Linked DNA regions of Homo sapiens: region 2 is linked to region 1. Evidence: promoter capture Hi-C in 16 types of primary human blood cells and fetal thymus (Javierre and others, 2016). All regions are on one chromosome and are shown on one strand. Each heading gives the region's core, a stretch centred on a gene start or on the middle of the fragment in contact. The rest is flanking DNA. Distances are from core to core; before and after follow the strand shown.

Evidence for each region. Contacts are between HindIII fragments. The CHiCAGO score rates a contact against its expected background, and 5 or more counts as called.
Region 2: the fragment with the promoter of LCORL here is called in contact with the fragment with the promoter of SEPSECS in region 1 in 1 of 17 cell types (non-activated CD4 T cells); the score reaches 6.3 in non-activated CD4 T cells.

Annotation. Positions count from the first base shown.
Region 1 is chr4:25,159,090-25,162,119 of GRCh38, forward strand. It overlaps SEPSECS (Sep (O-phosphoserine) tRNA:Sec (selenocysteine) tRNA synthase), which reads right to left and starts at 1,360. Exons shown (of 11, transcript NM_016955.4): 1 at 1,167-1,360; 2 at 1-18. The coding sequence starts at 1,280. It overlaps SEPSECS-DT (SEPSECS divergent transcript), which reads left to right and starts at 1,583. Exons shown (of 2, transcript NR_037934.1): 1 at 1,583-1,664. RefSeq lists a silencer at 1,044-1,213 and an enhancer at 1,324-1,623. The HindIII fragment of the contact is 2,962 bases long and covers 1-2,301 here.
Region 2 is chr4:18,020,350-18,023,100 of GRCh38, forward strand. It overlaps LCORL (ligand dependent nuclear receptor corepressor like), which reads right to left and starts at 1,406. Exons shown (of 8, transcript NM_001394446.1): 1 at 1,249-1,406. The coding sequence starts at 1,402. RefSeq lists silencers at 618-947, 1,268-1,727 and an enhancer at 1,778-2,037. The HindIII fragment of the contact is 12,000 bases long and covers 1-2,751 here.

The sequences.
Region 1 (3,030 bases), core at 110-2,609:
ATTCTCTGGACACTTGCCCTTAAAAAAAAAAAAAAACTTATGATTATATTTAATAAAACTACCGTTCTCTAGAATACTACAGGAATACAGTTTTTCTTTTTAACGTGTATTTTGCCACGCTGCTTGTTTTCTAAAATTCAAGCATAAATTCACCACTGTATAGAGACCGCAAAGAGGCAAAACGTTTGTACATTTGATTACAATTATTTACAGATTTCGAGAAGTGATGATAAATGCATACAATGAGGTTTACTGAGATATTTAAATTTCCGTAAGTGAAACTAACTGAAAACCAATACAACACATCCCCAGTGAAGATGCTTCAAACCAGGGCGTTACGACTGGGGCGGTGGGACGTGGAGAAGGGCGGTAGTTGTCAAACTTCAGTGAAATTTTGGCCACGCGCTGTAGCTCACTCACGCCTGTAATCCGAGCACTTTGGAAGGCCAAGAATGGCCGATCACTTGAAGTCAGGAGTTTGAGATCAGCCTGGCCAACATGGTGAAACCCCATCTCTACTAAAAATACAAACATTAACCGGGTGTGGTGGCGGGCGCCTGTAGTCCCAGCTACTCGGGAGGCTGAGGCAGGCGAATGGCGTGAACCCGGGAGGCGGAGGCTGCAGTGAGCCGAGATCGTCACACTGCATTCCAGCCTGGGCGAAAGAGCGAGACTCTGTTTCAAAAAAACAAAACACAACAAAACTTTTAATGAAATTAAAATACATGAACGCTGGCAGGAGGGAGACCTGTGAAGTTCCGCGGAAAGCTCGTGGTTCGAGTTAGCATACAGTCTACAAACACCATTATGTGTTCTGAGTCGTTGAGGGTTGGTGAAAGATGGAGGTGCGAACTTTGCCCTTTCCGCGAATAAAAAAGTACACTGGGACTTTCCCTCACTTCCGCATCCCGAAGTTAGAAACAGCGGGACTCAAAACCCCGACCCCAACACCCCCTCCTAACAACACCATTTGGCTTTCACTGGCTTTGGCAAGGCTGAGAAGGCACAGACCGCAGTCGGTCAGCTAGGGCAAGCCAAGCTGAGACAGACTTGGGACTAGTCTCAAGCAGCGAAGAGCTGCCGGTGAGGCAGCACCAGCGGGGACGCCCGGCGGAGCCAGAGCCCCGGGGTCGCGGCGGCTGGGGAGGGGACCGACAGCTCGGTACCTTCTCCAGAAGCAGCCGTATGAGGTGCTCATGCGAGCGGCGGGCCTCACAGCCCTGCCGCACGTAAGCCGGCGACACCAGCCGCTCTCCCGCCGCGAAGCTCTCGCGGTTCATGACAGCGGTGGCGACAGTGGCGAATAAGCGGGAGCACTAGCTCCACACGCCAGACACACGACGGAACCAGAATGCAACTCGCCGCCTGGACGGTACGGCAGCGCCTTGGGACAAAAAACAAAACAAAACAAAACAAAACAAAAAAAACACTTCTCGTTCGTGCACATGCGCAGACCTTCTCAGATGGCGCTCCAGGAGGAAGTTGGCGTATTTGAGCATGCGCGAGGGAGTCCGCGCTTTTCGCTGACTTTTGGCAAAGGAAGGACTGAAATTAGCCCCGCCCCGCTGCGGCTGATTCGTCTAGTTAAACCCTGGTGTTCCTGACACAAACTTCAGGAAAGGATTTTGCACTTGTGCAGACCGGGCGAGCAGAGTAAGAAGCAGGTACGTGGGTTTTTCCAAGTTCTGTGTTTCAGTCCTGTTGGATGGTTGAGATCTGTGCAGGGTCTGTGCTTCCGCCTTATTCAAACTGTCAGATGCCAGAACCTTCGATCTTTACTTTGATACATTTCCACACTTATTACTGCCTCACAACCCCATAGGAAATAGCAGTGCCCCACTCATTTTCCCCTTGACACTACTGTTTAGCCATAGCACTTACTACTCACCACGTGACATGCCAGACGTTTGTTTATACACACACACACACACACCCATACCCATGAATGTAAACTCTCTAACCTAACGGCAGGACCTCGGTTTTTGCTGCGGTGCCCCCTTCCCCCGGGCACCTAAAACAGTGCCCAGAATAAAGTAGGGCCTAAAAAAAAAGTTGATATTGAATTAATGAATTAGTTTGACCATTCTGAAACTATCCCCAAGAACATTTTGTAAAATTGATTAAGGAGGGGAAAAAAATCCAACTAGGCTTACAGCTGCTGTTATTAAGCCAGCTTGCAGTGTGGCCGACTTTCTTGTAGCTGGTTGCTACTTACTACCCCAGGAGAATGTGGCCCTTGTCACAAGACTCTTCATTCTTTTTCTGCTCTGAAGATAAAATCTAAGACATTATGAGAAGATAAGCTTTCTGTTTGCATTGCTTCTTTAGGTCCCGCATACCAACAAAACTAAGGACGCCAACTTGTCTGGAAGGCCCAATAAAAAGCTGATTCATGGAGGAATGCAATTGTCACATCCTAATGATTTCATCTCCCTTACCCCAACGAATCGATAACCCCAAATTTTCCAGCCCCTCACCCTCCACAAATCCCCTTAAAAAACTTTGCCTAGAACCCCTTGATGAAATGGATTGAAGCTTGAGAACTCTTCCTGTTTCCTGGCTTGTAACTTGTGATTATTAAAACTTTCTCTGCTGCAAGCCTGCTGTCGGAATACTGGTCTGTTTCTGCACAGCCGGCATAGGAACCTGGCAGTGCTGTAACAGTTCAACAACTTAGAGGTTCACTGCTGGAGATCCCTGCCTCCAGTTTCCTTACAATCTTCATCTTATGTGAGCCTACAGTAATTCCTGACATTGCTTTCACCTGGTGGTTTGTCCATTTGCACTGAGTCACACCCACTTGCAAGAGCTGATTGTTAAATGTTCAGTAATTTTGTGAGCTAGTTTTCAAATACAGCCACTCAAAAATTATATTACAAGCAAAAGTAAAAATACTCAAAATTTGTCACTTCCTAATTATTTTACATTTTACTATTATCTATGCTCTTCAGGTTATTTACATGCATTTTATCTATATGGTGGAAATTCAATGTAATGTTATACTACTGCACATCTTCCAACTCCTCTTTT
Region 2 (2,751 bases), core at 156-2,655, 7.1 Mb before region 1:
AAATGCCAAGATTCACTCGCCAGTAGAGCAAGCTGCTGCCACTATCCACTGCTTACACAATACAACCTTCCTTTCTACCTCTTCCCCTACACTCCCACCCATAACCCCCTTCCAAAACAAACACCCACAACGCGCCCCATTCCATAATCCGTGTTCGCCCCTCTAAGCCCACTAAACCAACCTGCTGGATAACAGCTCTATGCATTCGTCTTAGGCAAAAAAAGAAAAAAAAAAAAGCGACTGCAGCAAGGTCGGGAGTCCCACCATTCCTGTCACCCTAAACAATCCACAGGGTGAGAGCCCCAAGCCCAGAAGTTTGAGGCAAAACGATTCAGATCCAACCAAAAAGAGGGAATTGCAGTTGAATGGGGATGGGAGGTGGGGAGGGCGATGCGTATGCGTGTATATGTGTGTGTGTGTGTAAGGAAGAGTCCATCACATGACAGTGAAAGAGGACCAGAGTCGTCGGGGCGTCCGCAAGCAGACGGGGGGGAGGGTGTCGTTGCCGTGGCAACACCCCCCATCCGTCCAGACTTCCAAAGAGGGAGGAAGAACTTCAAATCCCAACCGTCAGCGCTCAAGCGGCTCCTTCTTAAAGGGGTACACACAGCGCCGCCGCCGAGCGCGAGAGGGCAGAGTTGGGCGCCCCCCGCCCCTCGGACGACGCCCCCGCCGCCCCTCGCCCCCAGCCGGCCCATCAGCGGCCCCCGCCCTGCGAGTGCCCGTGGGTCTCCAGGTCCAGGTCCCCGGGAACTGGCCGCGTCTGCTCACCCGGCCCCCGGCGGCGACAAGGGGGTGTGTGTGCGCTCGGCGGGGGCGCGGACCAGCCCGCCTTCCTCCGGCCGCCCTGCCCGCCGGCTCTCCTCCGCCAGGGCGCCGACCCACCGGGCCGCTTCCTCCGTCCTGTCAGGGTGGACGGCGGGCGACGGCGGGCAGCGACGGGCGCCGAGGAGTTTCGGGGAGAGAGCGAGCGGGCGGCTTCCGCGGGGGCTCAGCAAGCGGGTCCAAACTAACAGTTCCCGGGGAGCCCAAGAGCTGGGAAGGCGAAGGAGCGCGGACCGCGCCGGGCCAGCAGCCCGCAAGACAAAAGGCGAGCGCCGGGGCCGCCGCGCCGCGCCGCTCCCATCTCGCTCCCCCACCGAACTAACCCGAACGGGAGATTCAACTAAACCCCTCAGCCACAAACTCCTCGGGCTGCGACAGCGGTCGCCGCGCGGAGCCCGGGGCCCCGGCCCGCGTCTCTCTTACCTACACAGTGCATGAGGCGGTGGCGCCAAGAGTCGAGTTCCCGCCGGAATCCTCTTCTCTCCGCCGCGCACCGAGGGCTCCGGCACTGAGCGGCGGCGGCGGCGGCGGCAGCAGCGGCGGCGGCAGCGGCCATTCTCTCTCTTCCCTTGTCCATCTGCGTCCCGCGTCACGCGCCCTCATTTACATACGAGCAGCGCAGGCACGAGGCAGGGGCGCGAGCCCTCGGCGCGAGCCCCGGAGCGCGCGCCCCCCGGAGGGGGGTTGATTGACACGTGTCACTACCTTCCCTCTGCCCTGCCCTCCCCCTCCCACCGCTCCCTCAGGGAGAGGCGGGGAGGGAGCCAGAGGAGAAGGAAGCAACCTGCCGCTTCCGCTGACCCCGCCTCCCCACCCACTACCCTCCTCCCCCTCCCGCTGGAGTTTACTCAGGCGAGCCATACCGCTCCCGCCGCCCGCGAAAACCCTGAGCGGGAGCGAGAGACCCGGAGCCCAGCCAGGAACCGGCGTGCTAGTGGAGCGGACTAGCAACGCCTACTTTCTGCCTTCACTACGGGACTCCGACAGTCCGGAGACTTCACTTCCCAGGCTCCATTTCGCCAGGATCCCGAAGCTGAACTTGGCGCCGTGGCGCGTTGCTTGCCGGTCATTGTAGTCCAGAAGAAAGGATTTTTTTTGTTTGTTTGTTTTTCTTCCCCCCCGCACTTGGGTATGCAGGCTGGCCTGCAACTTCTCTGCGCCGCGCCGCTGGGGGGCTGAGTCTGTCGCTCCCTGCGCCCGGAACCATGCGCTGCCCGGTGGCCGGGTCTGACCCGACTGCTTTAGCTTCCTTAGGCTCCGCGATAGAAGGGTGGTGGAAGCCGCAAGAGTTGTCGGCTCCTTGTGGGTTCAGGCTGCGCTTTGCGTTTTAAGTGCTGGAAACTTTCCGGGGTCGCTGTCTTCCTGTCACTCCGCAGGGAAAGGGCAAGCCGGTCATTCGGCTACATCTGGAATAACTGCCAAACGTCCAGAGAGAGATCCCGGAGTGACTTCGGTATTCAAGGCGAAGAGATCTCGGAAAGCCAGAATATTTGCAAGGACTAGGAAAAAGATGCGGGTTTTTTTCACTGAAAATTACTTGCAGGGGACTGGGTGTAGCCGGCTGAAAACTGCAGAAGGAAAATTTTCTTTATAAGCTCCTGGAGGGCAGCGACCCACTGAGATCTCTGTACCGTGACATCTGTCACTCGCTAGACCCTAGTACAGTGCGTGACACGGGATTAAGCACTTTACAAAGGTTAATGGAATGAATTCTACCACGTGCTAGAGAAAATAACTTCTTCAGAGAGAGCTAGAGAGGAATCTTACGTTTAAATACAGACTCCAATCACAGTTTTTACTTTTGCACCAGAGCGATTGTGCGTTTGTTTCCGTATAAGTGCAGTTTATCAAGCCGAAGCTAAGCTACCCAACGTTTGCTAAGAAGTACTGTGTATTTCTGGAAATTTATTCACAAGTCTGTGGGAA